Linked DNA regions of Homo sapiens: region 2 is linked to region 1. The links are contacts of gene promoters, found by promoter capture Hi-C in human tissues and cell types (Jung and others, 2019). All regions are on one chromosome and are shown on one strand. The core of a region is centred on a gene start or on the middle of the fragment in contact, and the rest is flanking DNA. Distances in the headings are between cores, read along the strand shown.

Region 1 (4,315 bases), core at 622-3,121:
AGATGAAAAAGGCCAGCTTAATCAGCCACCTCTGCTAAGCTTACACCTCATACATCCAATGACCCTAGTGACACAGCCCTGTATTTACAAGACCATATGCTGCTTATTCACTGTGCTTCCACTTAGCCCTATTCCCTCACTGCTCCATGGGGGAAGCATGTTCTGGACCCCAAAGCATACAGGCAACAGACCTTACGGCAATCCCTGCAAAATACAATGGGCCAACCCACTCCTCCACACACACACCTGCCTGCTCCAGCTGCAGGATCTGCTACTCCCGTTCCCTGGGTCTGTGTTCCTCCCTCTCTGCATGCTTTGCTATCACACAATGCACAAGAAATTGACCATCTGGATAGTTTTACAAACCCAATCTAGAAGTGAACTGATAATAAAAGACAAACTATAAACCCACAGAGTAAGAGTTCTGTGGAGACAAATAGGTGAGAAGCTATTTCCAAGGTTACCTCTGTAATTTTATAAACATGTCACTCCTCACCCCCGACTGCAGCAAGGGGCATTTCTGGGAGAGAACTTTGGTTTGAGCAGAAAACCATCGGCTTTTCTCTGCCTCTGCCATGTTTCTAAGGAATAAAAATTCACTTTCCACTATCATTAGAGATTTTAACCAAAGGCTCCTTTTATTTTGCTTCCAAATCCAGGGTGATAATTGATTTAACCCAACGGCTTGAGGCTTCTTATAATTCAAAATCCACAGCTCCAAAGCTGGTAACAGAAACACAGGCAAGGGTCACCTAAGGTCAACCTGGCAACTCAAAATATGGGAGAGGGAATTGACATGTTTTCTGCTACACCTAAGAGTTTGTTTAAAACAAAACAAAAAAAGCAAAACAGAAAACGTTTTTCTCCTGTTATCGGAGTTTCTCTACAGTGAAAACAGCAAAAAACAACAGGGCAAAAGAATCACTACTAAACTAGAACAAACCCCCACTAAAGGATCCCTCAATGAATGAAGTGATGGTAACAGGCTTCATCAATTACCGATAACTCTTCTTCCAGTTTTCTCAGGCATTAGGGGCTCTGATTAACCTTTGGTACCATTAACTCATCACACTAGCCTACCTTGGATAAAATCAGCAGGGTTCTTTGAGACTTTCAGTTTATAACAAAAGAAGAGAGAAATCCCCACTTAATTCCCTACGGCCGCCTCTACCTCTCTTTAAAGAAAAGCTACTCCCGCTTGTTCGCTTGTTCTACCGGAGGTATGCTAGCAGCACAGTCGATTTCCTTTGCAGCTCCCTAATCCGGGGTTTCCATTCTCAGTGGAGAATGGATAATCCCAGGGGACCAGCTAAAGACTCTTTTCTTCCGTCCTCTCCCTCTTTTTCCTCTGATCTGCTTAAAAGCCCAGTTAACGACATTGCACCTTAAAGCGAGGGGACACGCACTTTCCCTCGTCCATCTGTCATCAATTAAAAGCATTAATATTTGCTTTAAACTGACACAGGCAAGGCTGATCTCGGGGAGGCGACCTCTGGATGCGCCCTGTGCGAGCAAAGCCGGGAGAGCGAGCCCCAAGCACCTGGCAGCGGTGCCCCCAGCAGGCGCCGAGGAATCCGGCTATCCATTTCTGGTGAACTCTGCGCCCACTGAGGCATTCGAGGTACGGATGTGTCCGCCTAGTACTCGGAGACGAAGGAGAGAGAGCGGGGATATGCGCTCCAGCTCTGCTAGGCTCCAGGGCTCTCACCCTTGCATTCAAAGCCTCCACCCCATCCCACTCCCCGCCACTCACCTTCTGCTTCGGCCACCCGGTGCGGCTCCAGCACCGCGCGCTCTCCCGGCACGGTTCCCGGAGAAAGTCCCCCAATCACCAGCTACGGCACTTGTAGCCTCTGCACGCCGCTCGGCTCCGCCGGGTGGGCAGCGCCCGCCACGGCGGGCGGGGTGGGGCGGGGCGGGGCGCTCCCGGAGCATCCCGGGAGTTGTAGGCCAGGGGCGGTCCCTGCATCCCTCCTGTCTCTGTCTCCTCCCACGCCTTCTGGGTTTTACCCTTCCTGCAGATGAGTTCCCGCCATACCCTCTTACTCCTCCCCAGCACTTAAGAAGACAGCACTGTTTTCTAAGCCTAGAGTGGAGTTCCCTAGCCTCAGGTGTGGCCACAAGACTGTGAAAAGGAAAGTATATTCGACTTCAAATGTGCCAGATAATTTGCATATTTTGTCTTTTTAATAGTCAAAACAAATCTTCCAAGTAGATTTTATTAATCCTCATTTTACAGATGTGGAAACAGGCTCAGAGAGGGTAAGTGCCTCATCCACAGTTACCAACAGCAGCTTCTGAAATTGCATCCAGGAGTCAGATTCGAAAGTCATTGCGTGTCTCACAAAATCAGAAGAAATATGACCATAAGGGGTAAGAGATTGTCCGATGTACCAACACATCCCCTGTATTTAGCACAGTGGTATTCGTTGAATGTATGAATAATAATGACTCAAAATAACAGTTAACATAAATAGCGCTTATTATTGCCAGGCTCTCTTCTAAGCACTATAGATACATTATCTCATTTAATGGTCACAATTTATTGTTAAAGTACTGTAAAAAAAAATCCTCATTTTAACAGAAGGCAAAACTGAGTTACAAAGTAGAATAATTTGCCCAATGTCACACAACTAATACTTAGCAGAGGTGGGGGGGGGGGGATGAACACCAACAGATTCTAAGCGTTATGCTATATGGAATGAATGGAAGAAAGACCAGAAGGCCAGAATAAAAGGGCTCAGGAATAAAGGAAATCTGAAGGTTGAATCTTCTGAGTTGTGACTCTTAGGATAGGACAAGGTAACTGTGTCACCAGCCTCTTTCAACCAGAGTGGACTGCAATAGCCAACAGCCACTGAAAGCCCAGGGTATGTGTAGCTTGCAGATAATCTCCAGTTTTCCAGCATCCTGTTGGGACAATTCTAGGGGAGCAAAAAAGGATTATAGTATGGATGGGCTGGGCACGATGGCTCACGCCAGTAATGCCAGCAATTTGGGAGGCCGAGGCGGGCAGATCACGAGGTCAGAAAATCGAGACCATCCTGGCCAACATGGTGAAACCCCGTCTCTACTAAAATAGAAAAAATTAGCCGGGCGTGGTGGCGCGTGCCTGTACTCCCAGCTACTCAGGAGGCTGAGGCAGGGGAATCGCTTGAAGCCGGAGGCGGAGGTTGCAGTGAGCAGAGATCGTGCCACTGCACCACTCCAGCCTGGCGACAAAGCAAGACTCCGTCTCAAAAAAAAAAAAAAGAAAAAAAGAAAAAAGGGATTAGGGATTATAGTATGTATTATGACATTGTGCTTGTAGCTCACATAAATACTGTGGTTGCTTGCTTTCAAAAGAGAGATCTATCTCCTTTAATGACAATTATGTTGGTATTTCATTACATTGGATAGAATCTATAGTCACATGATTACAGGAGTTCACAATGCTCCCTCTTTAAAATTCTTTTTCCCCCATATGATTATATTTGTAGCCAGTGAGGCCCATTTGTTGATAAACATGACAGATGTATTATGACTTCTCCTTTGCTTACTACACGGTTCTCCAGCATGAATATCTTTCCTCCACTGCCCTATTCCATCCACACTTCAAGGACTAGTTTGTCAAGCCAAATCTACAGGGATGCATCCAGTTCTTAGTACTACATATGCAAAAAGAAATAAAGAGAGAAACTAAGATGTAGAAGGAACTTGAATTTATGTTGACGAGGAAAAACTTAGGAACTTAGGCTATTTAGCCATAGGAGAATACTGAGAGGAAACAATAAACTAGCTTCAAATATTCTGAAGTTTCTAAAAATAGAAGAAGAATTCTATAGTATATTTAAAAGGGTAAAAGCAGAACAAATAACAATAATACTTTTTTGTTAGTGCTATTATGTTATCATCTTTAATTTTTACACCAACTTCACAAGGGAGGCAGTATTATTGCACCCATTTTGCAATGTAGAAATTGAGGCTTGAAAAGATGTAGTTTCTTTTCCAAGGCCTGAAAACTAATATCGGGCAGAGCTAAGGTTCTAACTTGGGTCTGTGTGATTCCAGAGACTTGATCTCTTTGCCAACACATTATACTGAGCAATGCTTCACAATCTTTTTTACAGCAGAGTACACATAAGAGGTGATACTATTTATGGCAATGTGATAAACACAGGAGGTTTCTCATGGCCATAGTTCTGGGGCTGTGGGTACTTCAGTCTCTGCAGGACAGCTTGGAGGGCTAAGGAAATAAATAAGTCAGCACACCTGTGACACACTGGAGTGCTGGAGGATGCCAAAGCACTGATCTGAGAAGCTCTGGATAGCACTA
Region 2 (4,498 bases), core at 681-3,180, 530 kb after region 1:
AAACTCTGTCTCTATTAACACATAATATCCGTCTCTATTAACAAGAAATAAGGAGAACTGGTAGAGCACTGTGGCATTCTGGAATAAATGAGTTTAAATCCAGACTCTTACAAACATCCTATGCCTCAGTTTCCTCAACTGTAAGATGTGGATAATAATAGTATCTGGTATATCAGGATAATATCAGGATATTATCCTATGAGAAAGGATCCACAGGATCCATTGTTCTGTGGATTAAACAGTTAGTACGTGTAAAGTGTTTAGAATTGTTCCTGATATGTAATAATCTCTATGCAATAAAAGTTACCTGACATTATGATTTATTCTTATCATACAGTTCTACTGCTCTCAAAGAAGGAATATGTGCAAAAAAAACTAGCCAGTGTTTGTCTCCCATAAAGTGATACCCCAAGGCATATGCCAGTAATATCTCTTTATATTTGCATAATGCCTTCCACTTTTCAAAGCATTTTCACACACCTTGCTTTAACGTCTAAAAAACCTTATCATTATTCTTATTTTCTATGAAACTGAAGCCAAGGATATATGGAGACTGCTGTACCCTTTTTGTCAGCTACATATTACCATGTAATAGTTACCTGTACACTCATATTAGCACCTAAAAAGTATAACATATAAGTTACCTGAACTTATATGTAGAAGTATAAGTACTTGAACATGTTAAAAATAATGGTAAAACAGTTTTTATTTTTGCACCAACCTATACATTAGTGTCCTACACAGAGCAGGTTTTCAATAAACACGTTAAAATGAACTCATTTGGTAAGTCTGTCTTAAATGTCTAGTTTCCTTTTGACCAACTACCCTACCTCCCTAACAACACGTATTAGAGCTACATTACATGTGCCACAAGATATCTATGGAAAAGTAAAATAGATTATGAATATGGATGGTACTACAAAAATTAACACTTTCAGATCTACCATAATGTCATCTGACTTCGAGTCAGAAAATTGGTAGAATAAATGTTATTGGCAAACTTTATGGTACAGCAAATGCTATCAACAAATGCCCTATTTGTTAACACAAAAAGGATTAAGGAAAAACTTTCATGCACATACACACAGAACTCTACATCAAAATCTATTTGATCATTAAAATTTATTTGATCAGAGAGATCAGAGCATAGCCACTCATAAAAATGCATGTCCTATCACTTTAGTTGGCTTATACACATTGGGCCTAGATAGTAATCCTTAGTAGAACATGGGGCTAGCAAGAAAAAGCAACTAATATCTAAGAGTAAGAGGCCAGATTGCATTCCTCTGATCCAACAAGAAACAATCAGAATTTTACACTATCTGTTTTAGGAGTCACCTGAAGGAAAATATTTATTACCAGGAAATGTCTAACTCCTTTCTGAACATTTTGAGATAAACACTGCATTGCCAATACAGAACTCATACCTACACTTGGATTAGAAATAACAGGAGGAAGACCCTATTCCAAAGCCAACTCCCAACAGTAATAATGAACTTTACACAGCTATTATCCATTCAACAAATATACTGATCAAGCCTTCTGCTGGGTGCTAGAACCCATGGCCTCGTCCAGTGGGTGGCAAACTATAGTCCACAGGCCAATTCCTGCCCATTTTATGTTTTTTTTTTTTTTTTTGAGACGGACTCTTGCTCTGTGGCCCAGGCTGGAGTGCAGTGGTGCGATCTTGGCTCACTGCAAGCTCTGCTCACTGCAAGCTCTGCCTCCCAGGTTCACGCCATTCTCCTGCCTCAGCCTCCTGAGTAGCTGGGACTACAGGGACCTGCCACCACGCCTGGCTAATTTTTTGTATTTTTAGTAGAGACAGGGTTTCATCGTGTCAGCCAGGATGGTCTCGATCTCCTAACCTCATGATCCGCCCGCCTCTGCCTCCCAAAGTGCTGGGATTACAGGCGTGAGCCACCGCGCTCGGCCCATTTTATGTTTTTGTAAATAAAGGTTAATTGGAACACGGCCACACTCACTTGCTTATAAACTGTCTATGGCTGATTTCACACTACAACAGCAAAAGCGAGCAACAAGAGACTATCTGGCCCACAAAGCCTAAATTAGCTGGCCTTGTGCAGAAAAGCGTATCAACCTCTAGAATAGAAGAAATTCACAGCACATGTAGATTTGAGAGCCAATGGTGTGAATATTCCTAGGGGAACAGAGGTAAGATGTCAAGGCAAGCTTGCTAGATGACAAAATGGTTACCTAGGACTTAAGTAAAGATTGCAAAGCAGACTGACACTGAATTAAAAGTATGCTCCAGGTAGTTAATCAATGAGAAAAGGACCAGAAGAAATAGGATACAGCACATGTCTCAGGAACTGCAAGAGTTTAGTATGGCTAGAATGTAGTATACAAAGTGCTGTAAGACAAGGTTGGAGAAAACTCGGCATATAAACGTATATGCAAAGATGAAAAGTTTATTTTAAGAATATATATCATTTCATCAGGGAGCCTGCCCCAATATTCACCTAGGTTCTTTTCTATTTTCCCTAAGCATCGGCCAGCTTGAGAAATTAAGGGACAGAGTACAAAAGAGAGAAATTTTAAAGCCGGGCATCCGGGGGAGACATCACATGTCAGTAGGTTCCATGATGCCCCACTAGCCGCAAAAACCAGCAAGTTTTTATTAGGGATTTTCAAAAGGGGAGGGAGTGTGCGAATAGGTGTGGGTCACAGACATCAAGTAGTTTACAAGGTAATAGAATATCACAAGGCAAGTAGAGGCAGGGCGAGATCACAAAACCACAGGACTGGGGCGAAATTAAAATTGCTAATGAAGTTTCAGGCACCATTGTCATTGATAACATCTTATCAGGAGACAGGGTTTTGAGATCAACCGGTCTGACCAAAATTTATTAGGCAGGAATTTCCTCTTCCTAATAAGCCTGGGAGCACTATGGGAGACTGGAATCTATTTCACCTCTGCAGTCTCGACCATAAGAGACGACCATGCCCAGGGGGGCCAGTTCAGAGACCCACCCCCAGGTGCACATTCTCTTTCTCAGGGATGTTCCATGCTGAGAAAAAGAATTCAGCGATATTTCTCCCATTTGCTTTTGAAAGAAGAGAAATATGGCTCTGTTCCGCCCAGCTCACCTGCGGTCAGAGTTTAAGGTTATCTCTCTTACTCCCTGAACAATTGCTGTTATCCTGTTCTTTTTTCAAGGTGCCCACATTTCATATTGCTCAAACACACATGCTGTACAATTTGTGCAGTTAATGCAATTATTACAGGGTCCTGAGGCGATAGACATCCTCCTCAGCTGACAGGATTAAGAGATTAAAGAAAAGACAAGCATAGGAAATCACAAGGGTACTGATTGGGGAAGTGATAAGTGTCCATGAAATCTTTACAATTTATGTTTAAGAGATTGCAGTAAAGACAGGCATAAGAAATTACAAAAGTATTAATTTGGGGAGCTAATATATGTCCATGAAATCTTCACAATCTACGTTCTTCTGCCATGGCTTCAGCTGGTCCCTCCATTTGGGGTCCCTGACTTCCCGCAACATCATTTTGTGTTTATACTTGCAAAAAACAACAACAAATAACCTACCACATCTGGAAAGACACACAAAACCAATAAAGACATTGCAGGGGAAATAATGGATACTGGAGATAGGATAGATAAAAGATGGGATCAAGGAGGCTTCACTAAATACCTTTTATAACTTTTTTGGTTTTTAAATTACATGAACACATTGCCTATTTTTAAATTACATATTAAAAACATGGATTTTGCCATGAAGGAAATATTAAAAGAATTTTAGCAAGTGATAATATTAAACACGCAAATCAGACAGACTACTCTGTAGATGCAATGCGCAGGAGGGCTAGAAGGAATAGAGTACTTAGGAAGCTATTAACAGATTATTGGCTGTTTGAAGCAAATATATTAACAATGTATTGTGGAGTTTCCAGCATATGAAGGTGAAAAACATATGATAAAATTAGCTCAAACAATGAGAGGGTAAGTGAAAGGAATTATATTGTTGTAAAGTTTTCACATTGTTTTTAAAGTAAAATAATATTAATTAGAGGCAGACTGTGGTAAGTCAAGGAAAACACTATAACCTCTGTATCAACCATTTAAAAAATAATAATACAAACAGGTTTAAATAAAAAGCCAAAAGAGGAAATTAAATCGAGTTCTAAGGACATTTTTTTTAAAAAGAAAAACTGTGATTAATTCCTCCTGCAAAAAAGTAGGAACAAAGACACCAAGGAACAAAGAACAAACAGGGCATAATGAGAAGAGCAAGATGGTAATATTAGCCCAAGAATATTGGGAACTAGATTAAATTAAGTATAAATGTAAGCCCTCCAATTAAGAGAAAGACTGTCATATGGAAAAAACAAGAGCCAACTATATGCTCTTTATGACACATACTTTAAAAACAAGAACACTGATAAATAGAAAAAGCATATAAGAAGAAAAATACTAATTTACAAAAATCCAGAAATAACTGTATTAATACCAAA

Evidence for each region. Contacts are between HindIII fragments. The study calls those that stand out against the background at their distance.
Region 2: a fragment that was not itself captured here is called in contact with the fragment with the promoter of TMEM74 in region 1 in 1 of the 25 tissues and cell types used here (mesendoderm cells).

What each region holds. Positions count from the first base shown.
Region 1 is chr8:108,785,723-108,790,037 of GRCh38, forward strand. It overlaps TMEM74 (transmembrane protein 74), which reads right to left and starts at 1,872. Exons shown (of 2, transcript NM_153015.3): 1 at 1,754-1,872. RefSeq lists silencers at 1,098-1,392, 1,808-1,987. The HindIII fragment of the contact is 13,104 bases long and covers 1-4,315 here.
Region 2 is chr8:109,317,338-109,321,835 of GRCh38, forward strand. All of the region lies in intron 2 of NUDCD1 (NudC domain containing 1), which reads right to left. Among named protein-coding and RNA genes, the nearest start is that of NUDCD1, 14 kb to the right of the region's middle. RefSeq lists an enhancer at 2,540-3,187. The HindIII fragment of the contact is 4,606 bases long and covers 1-4,233 here.